Regions from separate parts of the Homo sapiens genome. Here region 2 is linked to region 1. Evidence: promoter capture Hi-C in 16 types of primary human blood cells and fetal thymus (Javierre and others, 2016). All regions are on one chromosome and are shown on one strand. The core of a region is centred on a gene start or on the middle of the fragment in contact, and the rest is flanking DNA. Distances in the headings are between cores, read along the strand shown.

What was found. Contacts are between HindIII fragments. The CHiCAGO score rates a contact against its expected background, and 5 or more counts as called.
Region 2: the fragment with the promoter of PPP3R2 here is called in contact with a fragment that was not itself captured in region 1 in 2 of 17 cell types (endothelial precursors and M2 macrophages); the score reaches 10.1 in endothelial precursors.

What each region holds. Positions count from the first base shown.
Region 1 is chr9:104,392,812-104,397,300 of GRCh38, forward strand. No RefSeq gene overlaps it. Among named protein-coding and RNA genes, the nearest start is that of OR13F1, 110 kb to the right of the region's middle. The HindIII fragment of the contact is 3,332 bases long and covers 126-3,457 here.
Region 2 is chr9:101,592,087-101,596,794 of GRCh38, forward strand. It overlaps PPP3R2 (protein phosphatase 3 regulatory subunit B, beta), which reads right to left and starts at 2,883. Exons shown (of 1, transcript NM_147180.4): 1 at 1-2,883. The coding sequence starts at 2,835. The coding sequence ends at 2,323. All of the region lies in intron 6 of GRIN3A (glutamate ionotropic receptor NMDA type subunit 3A), which reads right to left. LOC105376186 (a long non-coding RNA gene) reads left to right here and starts at 2,888. Exons shown (of 3, transcript XR_001746863.2): 1 at 2,888-3,002; 2 at 3,257-3,422; 3 at 3,511-3,729. The HindIII fragment of the contact is 3,598 bases long and covers 1,067-4,664 here.

The DNA of each region.
Region 1 (4,489 bases), core at 542-3,041:
AGAAAATAGGTGAGGGAACCAATATCATCTGCATTTTCCCATTCCAGAATTTTCAGTCTGAAGAAGGGCCAAGCTAGGAAGTGGAAGAAACTTTAAAGTAAATGAAACATTGAAGCCTTAATATAAGCTTGGATTTTTCAGACTGGGAAATAAAACTATTTGTTACTATCTAAAAGATACAGAACATGCTGAGATTTCATCCAGGGATTAGGAAAAATGTTTCTAGAGGATAGGTTGGAAAGGACAATTAACCATAGAGACTGACTTTTTTTTCATAAACAAAACTTAACTATAGAGACCGATTTTTTTAATGTATTTATTCATCATGAGAATTTATATAGAAGTTCTGAAATGGAAAGTCTCTTTTTCTTTCTGAGTTGTGATAGTTAAGAACTGTATGCACAGAGTGGCTCAAGGCTATTTTTCCTGAGAATAAAGCTAAATCAGGAAAAAGCAGAACCAAGAGACTGAAAAGAGGGAGAGGGAGAGAGACAGAAAGAGAGAGAGAGATTTATTATTGATAACATTTTCTGATTTCTAATTCAGACAGGCTTAATGCAAAGTCTCCTCTAGGACTGCAGTTTGTTTAAGACAATGCATTCTTTTTTTTCTAATTAAGCAAGTTATAAGATTGTTTTCTTTCAATTTGCATCAGAAAGAGTTCTCATTAATAAAGCATAATTATTTAGAAGAAATTAAAACTACATGTACTACACATGCTTCACTTCACAATTAAATAAAATCACTGATATTTGAGTAACTTCTTAGCCTTTGTGTTATTCGTATACAACAATGGATAACATGCACTGAACATTTATTATGTATCAAGCACCTTTATATGAACTAACTGAATTCCTATAATGACCTATGAAGTTTTTACTATCTGGTAGGCTCTTTGGCTTATCAATGCAGAAACTGAGAGGTTAAGGAAGTTGTCCACAGCCTCACAGCAAGTAAGTGAAGGAGCAGGGGTTCAAACCCAAGCTGTCCAGCCTACAGCCTACTCCTAATCTCAATGCACAGTCAAAAGAGAAGAAGATAATTGTTAATATGATTGAACAGTGCATACGTCCCAAGGTGTTATGTGAATAAATGCTTTATTGTATCTAAGAACACTGATTATAGAGGCACCTAAGTAAGTGAAATGAGCTATTAGATGAAACATTTCTAATAATGCCAGATCATTTCCAGGATTTTAAGTTACTTAGCTATACTGTGCCTCTCAATATGAGCAGGACCTAGCGCAGTCTGAACCTATGATACTGGTGCTAAAATATATGTTTTTCGGGTTAAGGATACTGTATTAAGTTTTCATGAGAAAACTAAACCATGTGCAGATGGATTGATGCCTGACAGTTTCACTCTTTCACAATACCTAATTTTTTTTTAACCTGCTGGAGAATAAAGTTGTTTGTATATATTATGAGGCATGTTTACTCAAAATCTGAAGGGAAGTTATCAGAGATGTTTAAAACAAGGAGTTGATAGAGACCCATTCACTATTATGTTTCATGTTCAGACATTTTACTTTTCAGCTTTTGAGATGAAATTACAGAGTGTCAAGTAGTCTCTGAAAAAAAAAATCTATCTATACATTTTGGGTCCATTTGAATCTGAATCTCTAGAACCATCTAACAGAGACACTGAACACTATCGTCCTTCCTGATAACTATAGTTGTAAATTAGAATGTTCTAATTTAATGCAAAAATATTGTGGGATCTGGCCAGCAGCCCACAATGCAATGGGGCTCTCTCTTTGTTCCTAGGCGGATCGGCAGGTTGAGAAATAATAGACACACACAAGATAGTGAAAGCTGGGTCCAGGGGGGTCGCTGCCTTCTAGTCCCATGGTGCCAACAATGCACTGGATATACCAGCATTTATTATTAAGTTTAGTGAGGTCAGGGGTAGGTTAGTGAGGGATTTACGGTCATTTGATTATGAGGTGAGATGGTCACATGGGGATGAAGTAATTCTTTAACATAACATCTGTATGCAGAAGTACAGTATACAGGGATAAGAATTTACAATATAGTGTGTGCATCAGTAATTTCTAACAGAGCCTTAAAACAGAAACTTAGTCTTTCCATAACCTATGATTAGCAAGATATTAATCAGCAGTAACAGTTGCAGCAAAAGCTGGTTACAAACAATCCATAGAAACAGGACGTGAAGCTAGACAACGGGTTAGACCAGAAATTCTCAGAAGGGAGTATGCCTTAACCCTAAAGAGGCCTAGAAGAGCCATGGCAAGATGAGGGCGTCTATAGCCCTATCTTATCCATATCGACAGGCGCCCCCATGCGTCCGTTTATAGGCTCTCCACAAGGGTCTCATTCCATTCCCAGAGCTATGAACATCTGCTTTTCTGGGATAGGAATCTTGGTGATATGAAACCTCCCTGACTGCACGTCCATTCATAGGCTCTCTGCAGGGGCAAGCACATCACGTGCTGTTGGCTCATTCTGGCAGTCCAACCTGGGTTGTCGTTACACAATTCTGCATGCAATTTTGTATTTACAATAATCAGGAGCATTTCATCTTTTATTCCGTAGCAATAGTTTCAGGGGGTCTCCCTACAGAAAAATGCATTAAAAAGAATACATCAATGAATATGGGAGTGCATATATAATATACTGTTTTCATTTCCTTTGGATATATATCCAGAACTGGGATTGCTGGATCATATGGTAGTTCCATTTTTAATTTTTTGAGGAATCTCCATACTATTTTCAAAAATGACTGTACCAATTTACAAGCCTACTAAAAGTGTACAAGGGTTCCCTTTTCTCCACATCCTCACCAACACTTACTATCATCTGACTTTTTGATAACAGCCATTCTAACACGTGTGAGGTAATATCACATTGTGTTTATAATTTGCATGTCCCTGATGATTACTGATGCTGAGCATTTTTTCATATACTTTTTCGCCATTTGTATGCTTTTTTGTTTTTTTTTGTTTTTTTTTTTTTTTGGAAATGAACTATCACTCTGTTGCCCAGGCTGGAGTGCAGTGGCGTGATCTCACCTCACTGAAACCTCTGCCTCCAGGGTTCAAGCAATTCTCTGCCTCAGCCTTCTGAGTAGCTGGGATTACAAGTGCCCGCCCCCACACCTGGCTAATTTTTGTATTTTTAGTAGAGACGTGGTTTCACCATCTTGGCCAGCCTGGTCTTGAACTCCTGACCTCATGATCCACCTGCCTCGGCCTCCCAAAGTGCTGAGATTAGAGGTGTGAGCCACCGCACCCAGCCTCTATGTATTCTTTAAAGAAATGTCTACTCAGGTTCTTTGCCCATTTTTAAACCGGGTTCTTTGTTTTCTTACTATTGAATTGTTTGAGTTCCTTATGTATTTTGGATATGAACCCATTATCAGATGTATGGTTTGCAAGTACTTTCTCCCATTCTGCATGCTGCCTCTTCACTGTTATTCATTTCTTTGGCTGTGCAGAAGCTTTTAAATTTGATGCAATACCATTTGTCTAGTTTTGCTTTTGCTGCCTGTGTTTTTGAGGTCTGGAATCAACCTAAGTGTCCATCAGTGGATGAATGGATAAAGAAAATCTGAGGTTTGCGTGTGCACACACACATCCACTTCCACACACACACACACACGAATGCTATCCAGCCTTGAAAAGAAGAAAATCCTGTCAATTAGGACAACATGGATGAACTTGGTGGGCATTATGTTAAGTGGAATAAGCCAGGCACAGAAAGACAAATACCGCATGATCTTACTTATATGTGAAATCTAAAACAGTTGAACACATAGAAGCAGAGAGCAAAATGGTAGCTACCAGGGGCAGCGAAGGGGAGATGGGAAGATGTTGGTCGAAGAGTACAAAGTTTCAGTTAGATAGGAGGAATAAGTTTTGGACGCTTATTCCAAAATAAGTATTGGACTTATGTCACCAATGGACAGCATTGTGACTATAGTTAGTAATAATGCAATATGTACTTGCAAATTGCTAAAAGAGTAGATCTTAAATGTTATCACCATAAAAAATAAATATGAGGGGTGAAGGATATGTTAATTAGCTTGATTTAATTATTGTACAATATATACAGATATTGAAACATTTCATTTTATGCCATAAATATATATAATTTTTGTTTATCAATTAAACCTTGGTAAAGCTGGAAATAAAGTAATAAACTGGACAAATGAATCTTTTGTTAAACTTACTTGAAATTAGTGACCTAAAGTTGTCAAAAGTTTGAGAAATATTATTCTATGTAATTACATTAATTAAATAGCATATATGATAATGTTTCCCTGATGTTTTAGTAGAACTTGTAGCCAAAAATCAGTACAGACTACTTCCTCCCTCTCCAGGGCCCAATTATATAATGTATTCTTTTTATAAGTCAGTGAGTAAAATGTTGAGAACCTGGAGACAAACAGCAAGACAGTTTTCTCAACAAAGTATCCACTTTCTACAACATTGAGTAGCAATCAGATATCACCCACTCTGATTTTTCAG
Region 2 (4,708 bases), core at 1,633-4,132, 2.8 Mb before region 1:
ATAGGTTGGGCTGGAATGAGAGATTTTGTTTTAAAAATTCTCCAGTTCTCAGGTCAGAAAGTCTGTTGTCCCCTCTGCAAATGAAGGAGTGGTGAGGACCTTGAAATTGTTCCCATTGTTTTCTCTCTGGGCTTGGACATGGGCTGTACACTAATGTCCAGTTAATTTTAGAGTGGGTGTAGCTAAGAACTAAGTAAGTGTTCAAAAGCAACCAGTAAGCCTCATGTCTCCTTTACATATTGATCTTGTAGAAGGGGAAGAAGGGGGAAGGGAAGGGAATTAGTTGAATGAAAGTGGAATTGTGCTCCAGGTGTGTTGCATGCCTTTTTGAATCCTCAAAATAACCCTGGGGTGGATCCTCTTTAATTAGGTGGAAAGACACAGAGAGGCTAAGTAAATTATTCATGCTCACACAGCTAAAAAGAAGTGAGTGTGATAACAACCCAGTTGCAACTGAATCCAAACCCAGGTGTGTCTGAATCTTTGAACATTACATAACCCTGATCACCACAGGGTTGGGAGCGTTTATCACAGTTTTTAGGGTTGAACAGGAATTGAAGGGGTAAGGATTCCTATTTTTGTGGTTTCTAAGTAATCTATTAAATACAAAAGTATATGGTAGGGTACCTTGATAGATGGGTTCCCTACAAGTGATTAAATTTGTGGACTTTTTTTTTTTTTTTCTATTTTGGTCAAGACCAGTTGCCAGCTTCTTCCAAATAAAATAGCAGTAAATCTCCTTGAAACAGATCTTCCATGTCCTGAAAAAAGTTACCTGAGTGGTATCTCTTGGCTAAGCAAGTGTAGGGAGAGTATGTTTCATTGTTCTGCTGTTTTGAGAGCCTTAAGCATCTTATATGGGAAGTGGTTCTCTGTGAGAAAGAGGATTGGTATGGAGGCACAGATGCTGGGACAAGTCCTAGCCCTGCTCTTCTGAGGACAGTTCATGCTCTGAGAACTCACAATAGTATGTGGGACACCTCAGGGAGCTGGTAACATTTGGGGTACAGGCAGTGATGTATTTACTGGTAAACAAATTCTCCAAAACAAAACAAAAACAACTAAAAGCTTTTGTTCTTTTCTCACCATGGCTGATCTAAAGCTACCAACATGACATAAATGCGTGGGAAGAGACACATGCATTCTGGATCTCCCCTGGAACCACAGGCTCCGGCTCACCCAATGGTGGAGATCTGTTAGTGTGTGAGGACTTCTGCACTGAATGTTCCACTAGGGAAAAGGCTTCCTGGAATGAGAGAGCTCTCAGTTTCTCTTCTAGGCCTCAGATCTGATTTTCAAAATCAGCATAGCTGGTGTAGCTAGCATCCACCTCTGCTGTGGAGACACAATTGTCAGTCTCTGCATCTGTGAGCAACAGACATAATGCCACTTTGGCATCCTAGGGAGATTCCACTGCAGCCTGACTCTACTGCCTCTCCTCCGTAGGACAACTAACTAAATGTCTCATTGTCTCCACCTGGGGGTAGGGACCAGTGTCGGAGGTGAGAGCACTTTCTGGGAGAACACTTTGCTTGCCCTATTTAGCTGGAGGTCCCCTTCATTGAAATTAATGCTGGTGTGGGCTGCCAACCCTGGAAACCCACTGCTAATGAGGATGATGGCTGAGCTGGGCACTTAGTCCAGGCTTAGCATTTCCTATAAGAGCCCTGAAGCTAGTTTCTGTTCAGGAGCTGGAGCAACAAGTCAGGAGGAGGCCAAATGAACTCCTACCCCTCAAACATGCACAGCGATTTCTGGATGCATTGTGGGGAATGGGGCTGCAATCTGCCGAAGGAAAAGATGGGATTCTGTCCCCTAAGAAAAGTGATTACGAGATGCCCAGCAAAGACAAATATATTTGTCCCTGTTGCTACAATAGGAAGTTAACAATCTGGCAAGATATCTGAACACAAGCAAATGAAAACAGTTCACCTAACACCCATGCAAATTATAAATTTCCTCCCATATACAAAATGATGAGAAATAACAGCAAAAATGTATACTTTCTTATTTTTGAACTTTTAAAGTTCTAGTTTGGTCTTTGAATCAAAACAAAGTAAAAGATGTTTATAAAAGCCATTTCCTTTTCTTTCCCCACTATGCTCATTTGACTTGCTCTTCCCCCTATAGGGTACCCTGAGTCATTCAGAGAAGGAGAATTAATAGCACTGAGTTGGTGATGAAGCTCCTGTTAGGACATATGGCTTCACAAAAAGAAATACTTCCAGATAAGTCAGAGAGACAGTTGGACGTCTTGAGCAAATCTTGAAAGAGATAGGGAAGAAAGCAGAAGTTGTTGGGTGGTGCTTGTAAGAAAAAGGCTCATACGATGAGGACCAGCTTCTTGTGGATCTCCAGGTCTCTGACCACAGCACTGAATTCCTCAAAGGATATCTTCCCATCGCCATCCTTGTCCAGGATGATGATGGTTTTGTCGACCAGCTGCTGGAGCTGCCAGTCCGTCAGGTTGTTGCCCACCATCATCTTCAGCACCTGGAAGAGCTCCCCGTTGGAAATGTAGCCATCTTTATCCATGTCGTAAATGCTGAACGCAAACCTCAACTTCTGCTCCTCGTCGCCCTTGACGCTGAACTGGGAGGTCCCCAGGATGAATTCCTTGAAGTCCACTTCTCCATCACCGTCGGTGTCGAAGACGTCGATCACTCGCCGCACCAACGGGTTGTGGCGCAGCTCCGGCAGGGACATGAACTCCTCCACGCTCAGAGACCCTGATTTGTCCAAGTCCAACTTCTTAAACCTCCTGCCCAGCCTTTTAATTTCATCATTGTCAAAGTGGGAGCACATCTCCGCCGGGTAACTGGCCTCGTTTCCCATTGTGGACATCTGGCAACGGCCACGGCTCAAAGGGTCGGAGAGGGGAGCAGGGGCGGTGAGCTCGGGCGGGGCTCGTGCCCGGACGGTTGGGCCATGGGGTGGGGGTAGAGGGCTCCCGGGGGCCCTGGTCGAGCAAAAGGGCAGGGGAGCGGAGGGAGGGGCGGCAGGTCAGAGAGGGAGCGGAGAGAGGAGGGAAAGAAGGAGGGAAAAGGGGGCGGAAGGGGAGGTGGGTGCTGTCTGGGCAGGAGTATAGGGAGGAGAGAATGGAGCCTGGGGGTGCCCGGGAGAGGCAGAGGTGGAAAGCTGGGCTGCCCCTTCTCTTTTTCCTTCTCTCAAACTCCTTGTACCTTTCCATGATAACCCCAATTTCCCTGGCAATTATTTTATCTACTTATTTCTTTTTTTTTTTTCTCTGAGAAAGTAAACCCCAAAGGAGAAGGGATCGCACCTGTGTTATTCGCTGCAGTATCCCAGAAGCACAGTGCTTCACAGGCAATATGTGCTTAATAAATATACGCCGAATGACTGAACTGCAACCAAGGACACTGTATACTTGCTTTACAGACCTAGTGTAAGGATGAAACAAGGTGACACATCAAGGCATTGATATAGTATGTTTTCCACGATTCCCTGGGAGGGGAAGCCGGGATTGACATCCTTCTGTACCTTTTTCAGGACGTAGGATTCAGAGTGTTTGTAAGAGACCAGGCAGATACCGCGCAGAATTTCTTACATGGATCACCTACAGGCACTAACATATTCCCGAGGAATATAAACAATGCTGAATTCAGGGCGTTTTTCAAGATGACACAGGTCTCAAGAACACAACCTCTGTTACTCTGTTCCCTCTTATCCATCATCTCATGCCCGAGTCACATCTTTGTTGTTGGTGCCTGGCGGCTATTCTGCAGAATACCTTGGGGGAAGGTCTGCAATGTGCCCAAAGAAGCCTTTTGTGTGTGTTGAGAGTGACAGTCGCCTCTGGATGATCTCACTTTTCTCCTTTTGTTTCAACTAGATTTGTTCTTTCTGTTGAAGACTAATCTCACATGCTCCCTCTTATTCCTTCTTCCTTTCGGAGCGCATCAATTACTCCAAATGCATAAGAAACAAATGTGGTTCAAGAGCAAACAGTTCAAAGGGACTTGGGGGAACCTCAGGCCACTACATCAAACTGAAAGATGCAAACACTCCTTCGCTTTAAAAAATGTTGGCAAGTTCTGTGTTCTATAGTTCAGCCAAAATATCAGTCTAAAGATAACCATGCTGGAACTAGCAAAACTAAGCCACTGATCACCTTATCATTAAGTCTGGCCATTTTACTTTCCTCTATAAACAAATGATAATCCATGGATATGTTTTAAAGCTGATTATGGGCATTACACAAATGAAACCCCCTTTCCCAATTAGACTGTTATATTGGAATGTTTTTTTGTTTCATTTATTTGCTTGCTTTTCAGTTATTCAGAGAAATGAGCATGGTACAGTTTGCATATAAGCCTATTGAATTTGCAATATTAAGGATACCACCTTAAATTATATTACAAGATGCCTAAAATCAGTGTTGGTCTCTAAATGATACCAACCACTATAGCCTGTGTTCTTTCTAAAGCACAAAGACCTTTCTGGACTCTCTGGGGGAAATATCCAGGCCCTGCAGGTGCAGTTCTGAAAAAATCAGAAACCTCAGGGGCAAGGACAGAACTCTATCTTTTGGGCATGCACTGGGGCTGGGAGCCTCTAGAATTGTGTTATTTCTCTCATCTTGTGTCTTTGACCACAGTGTAGTCCAGTTTCTTGGCTGCAAGTAAAAGAATCTACCTCTAAGAAGCTTAACATGAAAGATAATTTGTTGGAAGAATCTCACATAATC